Linked DNA regions of Homo sapiens: regions 1, 3 and 4 are each linked to region 2. The links are contacts of gene promoters, found by promoter capture Hi-C in blood cells and fetal thymus (Javierre and others, 2016). All regions are on one chromosome and are shown on one strand. The core of a region is centred on a gene start or on the middle of the fragment in contact, and the rest is flanking DNA. Distances in the headings are between cores, read along the strand shown. Region 1 overlaps MTMR6 (myotubularin related protein 6). Region 2 holds the start of RNF6 (ring finger protein 6). Region 3 has its middle 4.9 kb from the start of NUP58. Region 4 holds the start of USP12 (ubiquitin specific peptidase 12).

What was found. The method cuts DNA at HindIII sites, captures the fragments that hold promoters and counts their contacts. A CHiCAGO score of 5 or more calls a contact.
Region 1: a contact is called between a fragment that was not itself captured here and the fragment with the promoter of RNF6 in region 2, in 1 of 17 cell types (neutrophils). The highest score is 7.6, in neutrophils.
Region 3: a contact is called between a fragment that was not itself captured here and the fragment with the promoter of RNF6 in region 2, in 3 of 17 cell types (non-activated CD4 T cells, total CD8 T cells and fetal thymus). The highest score is 6.3, in non-activated CD4 T cells.
Region 4: a contact is called between a fragment that was not itself captured here and the fragment with the promoter of RNF6 in region 2, in 1 of 17 cell types (total CD8 T cells). The highest score is 5.2, in total CD8 T cells.

The regions. Positions count from the first base shown.
Region 1 is chr13:25,269,718-25,272,889 of GRCh38, forward strand. The region is part of intron 2 of MTMR6 (myotubularin related protein 6); the gene reads right to left. Among named protein-coding and RNA genes, the nearest start is that of MTMR6, 16 kb to the right of the region's middle. The HindIII fragment of the contact is 2,442 bases long and covers 35-2,476 here.
Region 2 is chr13:26,220,540-26,223,745 of GRCh38, forward strand. RNF6 (ring finger protein 6) reads right to left here and starts at 1,775. Exons shown (of 5, transcript NM_005977.4): 1 at 1,464-1,775; 2 at 709-791. RefSeq lists enhancers at 547-1,428, 1,429-2,310, 1,456-1,835 and a silencer at 956-1,005. The HindIII fragment of the contact is 7,611 bases long and covers 1-3,206 here.
Region 3 is chr13:25,295,079-25,298,439 of GRCh38, forward strand. No RefSeq gene overlaps it. Among named protein-coding and RNA genes, the nearest start is that of NUP58, 4.9 kb to the right of the region's middle. The HindIII fragment of the contact is 1,333 bases long and covers 934-2,266 here.
Region 4 is chr13:27,171,065-27,174,386 of GRCh38, forward strand. It overlaps USP12 (ubiquitin specific peptidase 12), which reads right to left and starts at 747. Exons shown (of 9, transcript NM_182488.4): 1 at 528-747. The coding sequence starts at 575. USP12-DT (USP12 divergent transcript) reads left to right here and starts at 1,195. Exons shown (of 2, transcript NR_046548.1): 1 at 1,195-1,308. RefSeq lists silencers at 74-123, 154-223, 294-383, 444-493, 634-1,273 and an enhancer at 1,334-1,523. The HindIII fragment of the contact is 218 bases long and covers 1,804-2,021 here.

The DNA of each region.
Region 1 (3,172 bases), core at 6-2,505, 950 kb before region 2:
CTGCAAAATTAAATGCATTTAAATAATCAAGAAAAGCTTGAAAAACAATGAGAGAAGCAGTTGTCAATGGAAATTAAAACTACATAGAGAACAAATAATTAACACACACACACACATATATAGTCCTTACGGCTAAGATTTAGCACCATTATCACTTATATTAATGCGCCTGTGACAAGTTACTAAAAATGATCTAATAATAACATTTAAACAGAGAATAAGGAATAAAAGCTAACTGTAATATTACAAGTTGAGAACCCTTTATCCAAAATGTTTGGGACTAGAAGTATTTCAAATTTTGGATTTTTAAAGATTTTGGTATATTTGCATTATACTTATCAATTGACATCCCTAATCTGAAAATCTGAAATCTGAAATGCTCCAATGAGCATTTCCTTTGAACATCATGTCAGTGCTGAATTTTTGGATTGGGGATATTCAACCTGTACATCACTGTTCTGATTTTAATTATAAAAACCCAAAAGTATTTGCAGGAAGAAAATGATGAAGAAACCTGGTCCTACCACTAACTAGTTATGTGATTTTGAAAACATAATCAACTGTAAAGTGAGAAAAAGGATATAAGGTTGATACGGCCCCTTCTGGATCTAAAATGTTCATTTCTATGGCTCTAGTATATTAAACAAACTTCATTTAGGGCAAACATAAGGGAATATACTGATAAGAAAGCATTTAAAAGACAACAATAGGAGAGTAGAGAATAACACAGATATCTTTTTGTTGCCCCTCAAACTACATTCCCAGCAGCTGAGGGAATAGCTATACGGGAAGCCTTCATTTATATCTCTACGAGATGGATAATAGAGAAAATACTGAAGCAAGTGGACAAAGGAGGGGTAGATGGAGTGGATGATAATATGACTAATTATTTCAGAAGGTACTGCTAGGTAAAATTCCTGGCAATTCTTGGACAAACACTGGATGAAGAAGGGATCCAGTGCCTCTAGGGAATACAACTTCTCCAAGATCAGTATCTCAAGTGAGTTTCCTTAACAGCTGATATAGAATCATATATCAATTGGTTAGCCTTCTTGGGGAAATCAGAAGAGTACAATCAAAGAGAGAAAGAGAAGAGAACAGTATGACAGTATGTGCAGTACAGGGGTGTACCACAGAGCAACATCAATCTCTGGACTGGGAGGCATAATTGACCTCTAATCTTGATTCAACTGCTTAGAAAAATAGTATGAGCAGCTATGATTTACGCCACTACTATGTTTTACGCACAGATGTTTTTCATATTTTCTTTCATCTAAGACTCACAAAAGCCCTACATGATGACTGATGCTATATACCCATTTTATGTGGGTGCTAAGCTCGAAAGTTACATACTTTTTGGCAGACACTGTTGGTCTGCCATTCCTCCCCCCCTTCCTTACTTGCAACATCCTTTTCCCTCAAGAGATAAAAAATACTAGGATCTACATTCTCTGCCTCCTTTTCAGGTAGGAGTAGCCAAGTGTCCGGATTTTCAAACAATCAGATGTTAGGGAAAGTTAGCTGGGGGCCTTCTGAGAGAGCTTCTCCTCCCTGATAAGCAATGGGGCTACTGAGGAAAGCCTACCCACCTCTCCTGCTTTGCAAGGTTTGGCACCATGTTCAGTCAGGTATTCATTTACTTACAGCCAAAAGCACCCTGACATAGTCACCCAAGCAGTGAACAGCAGAGCTGACATTTGAACCCAAAGCTACCTGACAACACAGTCTACGTGAGCTCATTTTACTACTCTACACTGCCTGTGTAACAATGAATGAATTGCCACTTGCCTGAGCTTCAGCTTCTTCATCTATAAAGTGGAGGTTCTAAAAGCTGGCAGAGCTAGTGGCACAGAAACATGCCCAAGTCTCTTCCTCTCAGGCACAGAGACACAAGCCCCATATTCTAACCACCTTTCCTACTTCTTTTTCTGCTTAGCACTTATCACTATGTATTTTACTTATCTACCTACTTATTGGTGATGTTATCAATATCTTTCAGCACTAGAATGTTGGCTCCATGAGGATAGAATTTGTACCTGTTATTATTGGCTATTGTTTCCAAAATATCTAGAATAGTGATATGAAACACACTGTATATGCTCAATAAATGTGTGCTAAATGAATTCTAAAACAGAAAAGGAAGAACAAAGAATCCAAAATAGCCATGGCAATTTTGAAGAACAAGTTGGGAGGGTATGCTCTACTTGATATCAAAATTTATTTAAAAGCTATAGTCAATAAAACAGTGTGGTACAGTGTAGTCAGTATACCAAACGAATAGAAAAGAAAACTCAAAAGCAGAGCCTCACATACATGGAAGATGTTTTTATGACAGAGCTGGTACTAAAGACGAATGGAATGAAACAGTCAATAAATGGCGCCGGTCGTCTATACGAAAACATAAAAATGAATCCCTAGTCACATCATACACCAAAATATTTCCCAGATGTATTAACAACTTACAGGATCAAACTTAAGCTTTTAGAAGAAAATATAGAAGAACCTTTATGACTTTGACATAGGAAAGGATTTCTTAAGTCACAACAGAGCACAAACAATAAAAGAAAAAAATGAAAAATCTATAACATTAAAAATATAAACTTCAACTGAAAGACATATAAAATAAAAAACAGAGAAGACAAGCCACACACTGGGAAAAGCTATCTATGACACACACATCTGACAAAGCATTATAACCTAGAACTCTTTATTTGTTTTCTTGAATAATACTTTTTTTTTTAATTCAGTGGGTACATGTGCAGGTTTGTAATATGAATATACTGAATGATTCTGAGGTTTGAGCTTTGACTGAACCCATAGCCCAGACAGTGAACACAGTACCCAAGAGGTAGTTTTTCAACCCTTGTTCCTCTACTTCCCTCCCTCCCACCTCTATTAGTCTATTAATGTCTATTGTTCCCATCTTTGTGCTCGTATGTACCCAATGTTAAGCTCCCACTTATAAGTGAGAACACGCAGTATACGGTTTTTTGTTTGTGTTAATTCATTTAGAATAATGGCTTCCACCTGCATCCATGTTGCTGTAAAGGCCATGATTTTGTTCTCTTTTTATGGCTGTGGTGAATATGCACCACTTTTTCTTTATCCAATCCACTGCTAATGGGCACCTAGGTTGATTCCATAGCTTTGCTATTGTGAACAGCGCTGCAAC
Region 2 (3,206 bases), core at 525-3,024:
TCAGTAAGTCACACTAAAGCAATGGTTCTCAAACTCACTTAAGGGTATTTTTAAAAATCTAGATGCCCAAATCTCATCCCCAATCCTTGATTAGAGTTTTCCAGGGTAGGACCAGGTCTGCTGTTAAGAGCTAATTTGGGTGTTCTGCAGATGAAATAAACTATTCCTCGACAATTTCTGGCATGTCACTAAAGGGTATGAGTAATACAGCACCTGACTCAGTAGAGGCTGGAGGCTCAAATGGCTAGGCTACCAGTGAAGCAACTGTGCAACTCTGCCTCTCGAAATACACTAGGTATTTAATAAGCAAGCTGCTTTAAATATAAGGTGAAATTAGCCTACAAGTCTAAAATACTGTTGGAGTAAGCAACTATTCAATTTCACCTGTAACACTAAATTACAAATTCAAGGATTTTTTTCACTGTGGTTATTTTATTATGTCATTTTGAACAAATGACCTAGTAACATTATCCACTCAAATATGAATTAACACTACTAAAAACTCAAGATCTCTATCTTCAGATTAAGACCATAATTAGCAAAGAGCATATTTCGTAGGTACAGCAATAATAGGATTTTTGTAATAAATAATTTTACAAGTTGAAGCCTATCATAAAATCAAGTTACCCTAATATTATTTAAAACTTGAGCTTCTCCTTAAAGGTAATTTTCTTATACAGTTAATCACAATGAAAACAAAGCGAATACCTTATTTTCCTTTCAACACGCTTTTAACATATGCCATGGTATCCATCCTTCAATTGTTTGTGCCTTTTTTGAGAGCTGCCCATCTGAAGCAATAAAAGAGAGTTGAATAATTCAATAAACTGTTTCTTTAAAGGCCAGGAACGGGTGGTAGTCTCCCCACTCTGCTGCAAAGCCAAAGCAAATTCTCCAGTGGATTTTGTTAGACACATCTAGAAAATTAGATCCCCATACAATTAGGTCACGAAAACCTCCCGCAAGGCCCCTACCTTCCGCAACAAACTTAGGCCTTTCGTCCTACACTGTCACTGTTCCTGGGTTTACGCCTCCTCTCTCAAAGGCCTTCCTTCCTATCCCGTTCCCATTCGGATGTTACCAGGGTTAGGCGTCTCCGGCTTACTTCTAAACCTTGACTTTCTTGCCACCCCCGCCCTCCGTCCCGCTACTGGTTTCTTTCCCGGCCGTTGCGACGGAAGCTCGCGCCGGGGGACGATCCCCACTACGATAAATAAAGTGGGCTCAAGAGGCCCAACCAACCTCTTCCCAACCGAGCCTCAAGTAACGCTTCCCTTAGAGACCTAGATTCTCACAAGGAAGCAGGTGATAGACGGTGCATCCCAACCAATCACCAGCCAGCGGAGCGCAATAAGAAGGCAGTTAACCAATCGGAGAAGAGATGGGTGGCTCGAAGGATGGCCTGCTTTCCCCGGCGTCTCCAGGAAGTAGTGGTGGGACCCAGATCTTTCCCTCGAGCCCACCTCTCCAGGTCTTGGGCCTTCGCCCTCCTGTCCGGAGAACGTGTGCTGTGGGCGGCCGTTCTCTCGGGTGCTGGAGGCTGTGGTTGGGAGGCGGGATAGGCTTGCCGCCGCGCCTCCGGAGCCCGCTGTGCCCTCGAATTGGCCACTGAGGAGAGAAGCCGGAAGCCCGTGCTGCAGCGTGGGGTCGTCCAGCTGGAGGGGATACTCGGGAGGAAGAACGGCAGGCCCCAGCCCTTCTTTCCCGACAGCCACGCCGCCCACTTGGCGGCGGGGAGTCGCTCCGCAGCCGGCCCGGAGCTCGCCCGTGCAACTGAAAACTGCGTCCGTCGGGAGCTAGGGTGCCTGGCGTCCCGCGTTCCGCCCTCTTGCGCCGCCCTTACAGTGCCTCCTCCTCGAGGCCAAATGCCCGGCCGCTCAGCGCTCGTGGCAGCCGCGTAGTTGCAGAGACACGGTCTGCTTTCCAGGCTTGGGAAGTCCCAGCACTTAACTCTGCGCGTCGGTGTCGCTCGTTTGCCAGCCAGACTATAAAGTGCACCCAACGGTGTATGCGTCTCTTTACTTCCGGGTGTAACGTACTACCCAGCCAGGCCCTTTCCCTTGCTGTGCTTTGGAACCTGGAAATTACAAACCCTAATAAATTCTGAAGTCTGTCTGTCTGTCTATCTCTATTTGAGACAAGGTCTCATCCTGTCGCCCAGGCTAGAGCGATCGTAGCTCACTGCAGCCTCCAGCGATCCTCCCTCCTCATCCCAGTAGCTGGAACTACAGGCGCTTGCCATTAATTTCACATTTTTTCTTTTGTAGAGACGGGGGTCTCGCTATGTTGCCCAGGCTGGTTTCGTACTCGGCCTCAAGCAATCCTCTCACCTCAGCAAAATGGGATTACAGGCATGAGGCACCGCACCCCACTATATTTTGTGTTTTTTCACCTTCCCGCTAGGAAAGCAGTTTGAAACTCCCAACATTCCTCCCTCTGATTTTATTTCTGAGATGTGAGGCTTACTAAACTTACCTCACCGTTAGTTAAGATGCTGAGTAGGTCTCTGTCTAACCTGGTATAGTCCCCTTTCCTGACATCCCTACCATCTGATGACTTCATCACTGGAGAGTGCTCACAATGCCGTTACTTGTTATTCTTCCGTTTGTTCTTTCATTTCTGCATTAACTTTTGAGGAACTACCATATCCCCATTATTATGCTGGGCACCTGGATAACAAGCTACATGCAGTCCTTAGCATCAATGAGCTACCAGTGTAGTAAGGATCTATGGACAAGTGTTTAAAATAAGCATATGGATATGGATACTAAAATGGAAATATATAAAACAGCCTAGAAAGCCCTTCCAGATCTTTCTTCTGCTTACATTTACAGGCTGTTGTCTTGGCACTCCGAAACTGCTTGAAGTTCCGCCACAAGATATGGGAACTCCTAAGCAACCCCCAACTCCACTTTTACCTAATTTCCTCTGTCTCCCAAAACTCAGCTCAGTTCTCATCTTTAAGGAATTTTTCCTGATACCTCTGAAATAACACCCTTACCTCACCCTCCAGCCCGATATTTACACATAAAACTAAGCAAATGTCCCTTTTGGGGGCTCCCATACTCCCTCTATATATAAAACCCTATTTTAGCATGTATTCATGTATTTAACAAATAGTGAGTGTGACTATGTATTAGGTGCTGGTGATGACAGCCGTGAATCAGACAGTCATGTCCTCATAGAATGAAGTCCTTGCCCTCTTT
Region 3 (3,361 bases), core at 350-2,849, 930 kb before region 2:
TGAATGCACTGTATACTGTATTCAAGTGATCACATTATGTACTCTGCACCTCTGCAATTGAGGAGGTACACCTGGCCCAAGGAAGTGCACATGTCCAGGTTATACTCATGCTGGGCTGGAGGAAGACATACTAGTATTATGTTTCCATAAGGTTGGTGTGATGCTTACTCTTTCAGGATCTAGGGGTTCAGAGACTGGCTCCTCATTCTGTCTTTAAAAAGGTTACTAGCCATTTTTTTTTCTAAGTGTCCTTCTCTCTAAATCCTTTAGATAAGTAAACCTTGATGATTTAGCCAAGTGGTATCTGAGTCTGGGTTTTTGCACTTGCTATTGACATTGGCCGACACAGTGGTTAGTCATGCTCTAGTCTACATGACCACTTTATTGAACACTGGGTTCTGTGGGGTGCGAGCAGACAGTATCTTTCTTTTGCTCCACCGCTACCCTTCAAGCCTGCTTTGCTGGCTGTCTCTTCACCTCTCCTCAATAGGAGCTTGAGTTGATCCTGGAGAAGTACCTGTTTCTCTCATATTTTAGAGTAATCTGACATATATACTTCAAAATGTATCCAGTTCAAAGCTTCTCCTTTTCCCTATACCACCCAGGTTTGATGACAGTGGGATGGAGGTGGGACGGGGTAGGAGAATCTGTTTTGACCGTCTTGGCCCACTTTCTTCCTGCTTGCTTTCTAGCTCCTGTTTTGGCTCCCCGAGCATCAGGTCTTACTTGACAAAACCTTTTATAATCTGGCATCACTGATTTGTGTGCAGCAGATGCCTGAATGCCTCCTCTTTCTCCCTTGGGCAACTCAGTCAATTACTTAACCCTTCATCCAACCTCTGGGGCTTGCAGAATGCCTTAATTCCCTGAAGTAGGTGCAGCTCTCTCTAGTTCATTTCTTACAAGCTGACTCTTGGTTTCTGATATACACAAAGCTTGGCTACTCCTGTTTTTCTGGATTCCCTTGAAACTTGTCTGTGTCTATACAATAACTCTGTGTTCCCACACCTCCCCCATATATGCACACACTTATGCTTGAACTACCTTGAGAGAGTTCCTATTCTTAGCAATAAAAGAGGTCTAATTAGATTATGGGGAAACTGCTCAGAGCAAAGGGAATTGGGCAGGCTTAAGGAACTTTTATCCATGACATGGAAAAGACATGAATATACTCCTGCTTCATGGAGGTGGACATCTGTCTAGTGACCAGAATATGTGTATCCGTCAAGCACAATGACTTGTTTCCATGAAAGGTGAGAGCAATAAGTGCAGATATATTGTTCCTCTTTGGCTCCCATTTTTTTGAGACTACATGTTGACCACTGCCTTTCTGTTGGCGTGTTTCAAGGCAATTACATAATAGGTTGTTGGTGGCATTTTTATTGTTATATTCCAGCCCTATATATATTATTGACTTCTGTCAATCTTGGATATTTCCTAGGTTTCCTCAGTAACGCATGTAAAATTCATCTTTTGGGGTGAACTCCTACTAAAAAGGTATATTACATTTAGTTATGAATAATAAAGATTCAGCTCTAATGGACTAAATAACATACAAATAGACTTTTCTCTCATTTAAAAGAAATCTGAAGGTAGGTAGTATAGGGCTGGTATGGTGCCTCTACAGTATACCATCACGACCTAAGCTCATACTATTTTTTTGTGATACCCTCCTTTGCATATGACTTCCATTCTTAAAGTCACTCATGGACCAAGATGGCTATTGGAGATCCAGCCATTGTGTCTAAGTTCCAGGTAGTAGGAAGAAAGGAGAAGAAAGTCAAAACAGATGTATGCCAGCTATCTGTCCCCAAGAAAATGAGTGATTCTGGAAGTCTCATCTCATGTTTCCTACCCACCTCTACCTATAGAGGAAGCTGGAGACATATAGTTGTTTATCTGGTTAGTTTGCCACTTTGGAGAAAACTGAGGTTTTAAGGAAGAAGGAAGGAAAGAATAAATATTGGTGGCCAGAAGACAGCGTCCATCATTTATCTTATGTTGACATTGCTTAGTTTCTCTTCTCAGCCTTCCTTATCCACTAAAGTTGTCAAGTCATAAAAGCAACTTTTTCAGGTCCCATCTCTGCCAATAGGAAGGGTGTATTTCAAAATAAATGACTATAGTTTGAATTACATACATTTAGCTTTATGGATAACTCCTTACATTTATTTTTCTCATTTATTGGGTGATGAGTGAAAAAATTCATCAGGAAATAGACAATTACTGTTCTGACCTGTGATTGGGAACTTTTGTTTTAACTTTAAGCTTTTCCCCCTTAACTTTGTAGTTTGAAAATTTCAAACCTACAGAAAAGTTGTAAAATTATTACAATGAACACCCATATACCTTGTTTTGACAGTCATCCTATAATTTGCATTATTGATTTATCTCTCTATATACATTTGGTTGTTGCTGTTGTTCAATCACTTGAGAACTTAATGAATTTTTAAAGTGGAAGGACACTACTCAAATATTTAAAACCCTAAAATATTTAAGACCTTTTCTGAGAATAATTTTCAAGATAAAGACTGTGATTGAAGGCAAATGGTTACATGTAATTTCTAAAAGATAACCTCTTTTCTGGATATTTCAGAGGACCAGAACTGGAGATATTACAGACTCCTTTCAATAGACTTCAGATTCCCACTTCTTTTCTGTCTTAGAACCGCTGCTGAGAGAGGTTCTCAAATGGTTATCCTGATCTGAACACCCCCACCAAAGCAAACCTATTTTAGATATGTTAATGCAAACACAAATTAGAAGTTTTAGCCTGGGCAACACGGTGAAAACCCATCTTTACAAATAAACAAATTAGCCGGGCATGGTGGTGGACACCTTTATGTAGTCCGAGCTACTCGGGTGGCTGAGGTGGGAGGATCGCTTGAGCCAGACAGGCAGAGGTTGCAGTGAGCCAAGATGGTGCCACTGCACTCCAGCCTGGGCACAGAGCCAGACCCTGTCTCAAAAAGGAAGAAAAAAAAAAAGTAAATTTTTTACAGTGCTATTTCTGTTTGGATAATTCAGTTTGATTATGACATTAACAATGTCATCATCCTGCTGGCAAATCAGCAAAAGATGCAGTTCTCTAACAGAATGCTTACAATATAAGAAGCAAGGAAAGACAAGATGGCCTACTCTAGAATTTAGAATCTGAAGCACTTGCTTCATCCCTGGAAGCAGCAATTCACATAGAACTGACACATAGGTTCAAGTCCTCTAATGTTAAAAAGCGTAATATTTAGAAGATCCTTTGGGATAGGATTTGTTACTCTACCTAGACTAGGTCAGGAAGGTTAAGCCAGATTCCAGTGCTCCATGGTTCTGCTCAGTTGCAGATAGGATTCAGACTTATGTATGC
Region 4 (3,322 bases), core at 663-3,162, 950 kb after region 2:
GACCCTTCCTTCCTGCCCGCCGACCCCCACCCCTCCCGGGGACCCCTCCCGCTCGGCGCGCGACCAGAAGGAAATGGAGCCCGCGCGGCTCCGCGCCCCCTCCCCGACGACCCCGGCCCGGGGCCGCGCTCTGGCTCGCGCGCGCCCACCCCTCACCCCGGCACAGGCCGGGCGCGCCTCGGCCCTCGTCCCCGCGTCCCGAGCGGACCCCAGCAGTTCAGCCGGGGACTCCCGGAGGCCGGTGCCCGCCCGACGCCGCGTCTGGCACGGTCGCCCACTCACCGCTACCCTCGCGCCGCCCTGGCCCACCAGGCGGCGCCCCCTCCCCAGCCGCCTGGGCCGCTCACCCCCGCGCTCCCCGCCTGCGCGCCGTCCAACCGCCCCCGCCCGGGCCGCCCGGGCCGCCCAGCCCGCCCGCCCGCCCCGGCGCTAGGCCCCGCGAGCGGCCACTGGGAGAGGCGGGTCCAGCGCCGCCCGCCCGCCCGAGAGGTCCCGGCAGCCCCGGCCGCCCGCTCGCCGCCACCTACCATGGTACAGATGGAGGCGAATTTGGAGACTGTCATTAGGATTTCCATCCGGCCAGCGCCATCTTCCACCCAATCACAGCGGCGGCGGCGGGCGGGGGAGGAGGGGAGCCGGGCCGCCCGCTCGCACCGCAGCCCGCGGGCGGACCCCGAGCCGCCGCGGACCCAACCACCGAGCCCGCTGGGCCGCCGCTGCCGTCGTCGCCGCCGGCGCTCAGGCACTCCCGGCCTCGGGCCCCAGCCCCCGCCTGCCGGCCGCCGGCCCGCCCCCGGCTCCGCCCCGGCGCAGGGCGCAGCCGCTGCCTCCGGGCCCGCGCCTGCACGCGAAGCCGCCCTCCGCCCACCCCGCCCAGCGCACAGGGGAGCGGGCTCCGCCGAGGCCCTAATGCCCGGCCTGCCAGGCAGCGGCGCGGCCAGGCGGCGCAGCCCCGCCCACCCCTCGGCAACCCCTCCGCGGCCCTTGTGCGCGAGCCGGGGAACTCCGGTCCGTCCCCACCCCGCGCGCGGCAGAGGGCAGGACCGAAGGCGGGCGCCACCTCCTGCCCGCGTCCCTGCGGTCCTAGAGCCGGGGACCCAGAGACCCCCGCGTAGGAAGGGGTGCGGCGGGGAGGCGCGGGGGTGGCGGCGGCGATCTGGGAGAACCCTGGAGGGGACCAGCTGCGACACCCACCGCGGGCGAGGGGACGGCGAGCCCCCGCTGCCTAAACAGAAAACGGAGGCGATGATCTGGGTAACTACGGGCGGAGTGGGAGGAAACCTGCTCTGCACAGTTAAGATAACCCGGGTATGCGTCCCAAGCACTTGGTTTGTTTCTTTTTACGTATATTGGATGAATCACCGGAGTCAAACACAACTTAGAAAAAGACAAAATAATTAAACAAAAATGAAGAGGCAAAGAACAAATTACACATGTTTAACTCTTTGAATTAAGAAGAAAGATAAGTAATGGGGGAAGGAGAGGAGCGAAACCTGTTGGCCTGTTGGCGATAAATTTATAATAGGCTTCTAAATATCTGCACATTGAGCTGCAAAATAGGGAGGATCTCAAGCCAGCAGTGATGATGATATTACCAGAGACAGGAAGCCCGCAAGCAAGAAAAATGCCCTGTGAGAAATCCTTAGGCAGTGCTGGCTACTGGCATGGGTAGTTCCTCTTTCTCCTTTTATAAAATTCATATTTGCACCCTGTTCTTCATGCCTGGCAGCTCAGCTTTATTTTTTCCTATTTGAGAAAGTAGTTCAAGTGAGTAGAATAACTTCATAAATTATTATGTTAGAAAGCTTGTGATATTTTCTGATTGAACTCGTGATGGGGTACTTTTCTGGGTTCCCCTAATTCAGTGGGGTTGAGGATCTGAATTCAGGCAGAGCTGTAAAATCAGAAATGCCTCACCTCAAGGGTTCAAAGCACTCAAAAACAAAAAGCATTCAAACAAAATTTAAGTGAAAAATAGACTTCTGGTACATGAATACTGTTTCCATAGTGATTCCATTATAAGCTTGCTTGGGGGGGGAATGCAGATTGAATATAGCCAAGCCCCATGGTAGCCGGACTGGATCTCCAAGCGCCTGCCTCCATGGAAGCCAAGAGCCCTGATACCCCAGCCAGGGGCTTTCCTCTCTATACTTGCAAGCATCACCCACCTGAATTCTTTCTTGCTCTTTTCTACCCCCTGTTTGGACAAGGGTTTCTACATCTTAGACCTCTAGGGCCTACCTGGGCCTTGTCCGAGTGTCACCATGCCCATCTGTGTGCCCGTCCTGATAAATAGCTGTGGTCATCCTGTCCTTCCCACTTGCTGTTCTATTCCAGCAAACAGGTCTGATGTGCCAGAATTTTAGACCTGCCTCCATCCCGCTAACCACCCATATGCCTCCTTGTCCATTAATCCGAACATGTCACAGGAACAAAAGCCACTGGCTTTACATATAAGTTTATATAAGAACAAGGCCTTTCTAAAATGAATTTCTAGGCTGAGTATGGTGGCTCACACCTGTAATTCCAGCACTTTGGGAGGCCGAGGCAGGTGGATCACTTGAGGTCAGGAGTTGGAGACCAGCCTGGCCAACGTGGTGAAATCCCGTCTCTACTAAAATACAAAAATTAGCCAGGCGTAGCAGTGTACGCCTGTAATCCCAGCTACTCAGGAGGCTGAGGCATAAGAATAGATTGGATCCTGGAGGTGGAGATTGCAGTGAACTGGGATTGTGCCATTGCACCCCAGCCTGGGTGACAGAGTGAGACTCTCTCAAAAATAAATAAATAAATAAATTTCTAGGCTGGGCACAGTGGATCAGGCCTGTAATCCCAGCACTTTGGGAGGCTGAGGCAGGAGGATGGCTTCCAACTTCCTTGAGACCAGGGAGTTCAAGACCAGCCTGGGCAACATAGTGAGACCTTGTCTCTACTAAAAATAAAAATAAATACGTGGTGCATGGTGGCGCATACCTATAGTCCCAGCTACTTGTGAGGCGAAGTAAGAGGATAACTTAAGCCCGAGATATCCAGGTTGCAGTGAGCCATGATTGAACCACTGCACTGTAGCCTGAGCGACAGACTGAAACAGTATCTCAAAAATACAGCACAGTGGCTCTCGCCTGTTGTAATCCCAGCACTTTGGGAGGCCAAGGCGGGCGGATCACTTGAGGTCAGGAGTTTGAGACCAACCTGGCCAACATGGAGAAAGCCCATCTCTACTAAAACTACAAAAATTAGTTGGGCATGGTGGCGAGCACCTGTAATCCAAGCTACTAGGGAGGCTGAGGCAGGAGAGTCGCATGAACCTGGGAAAAACCAG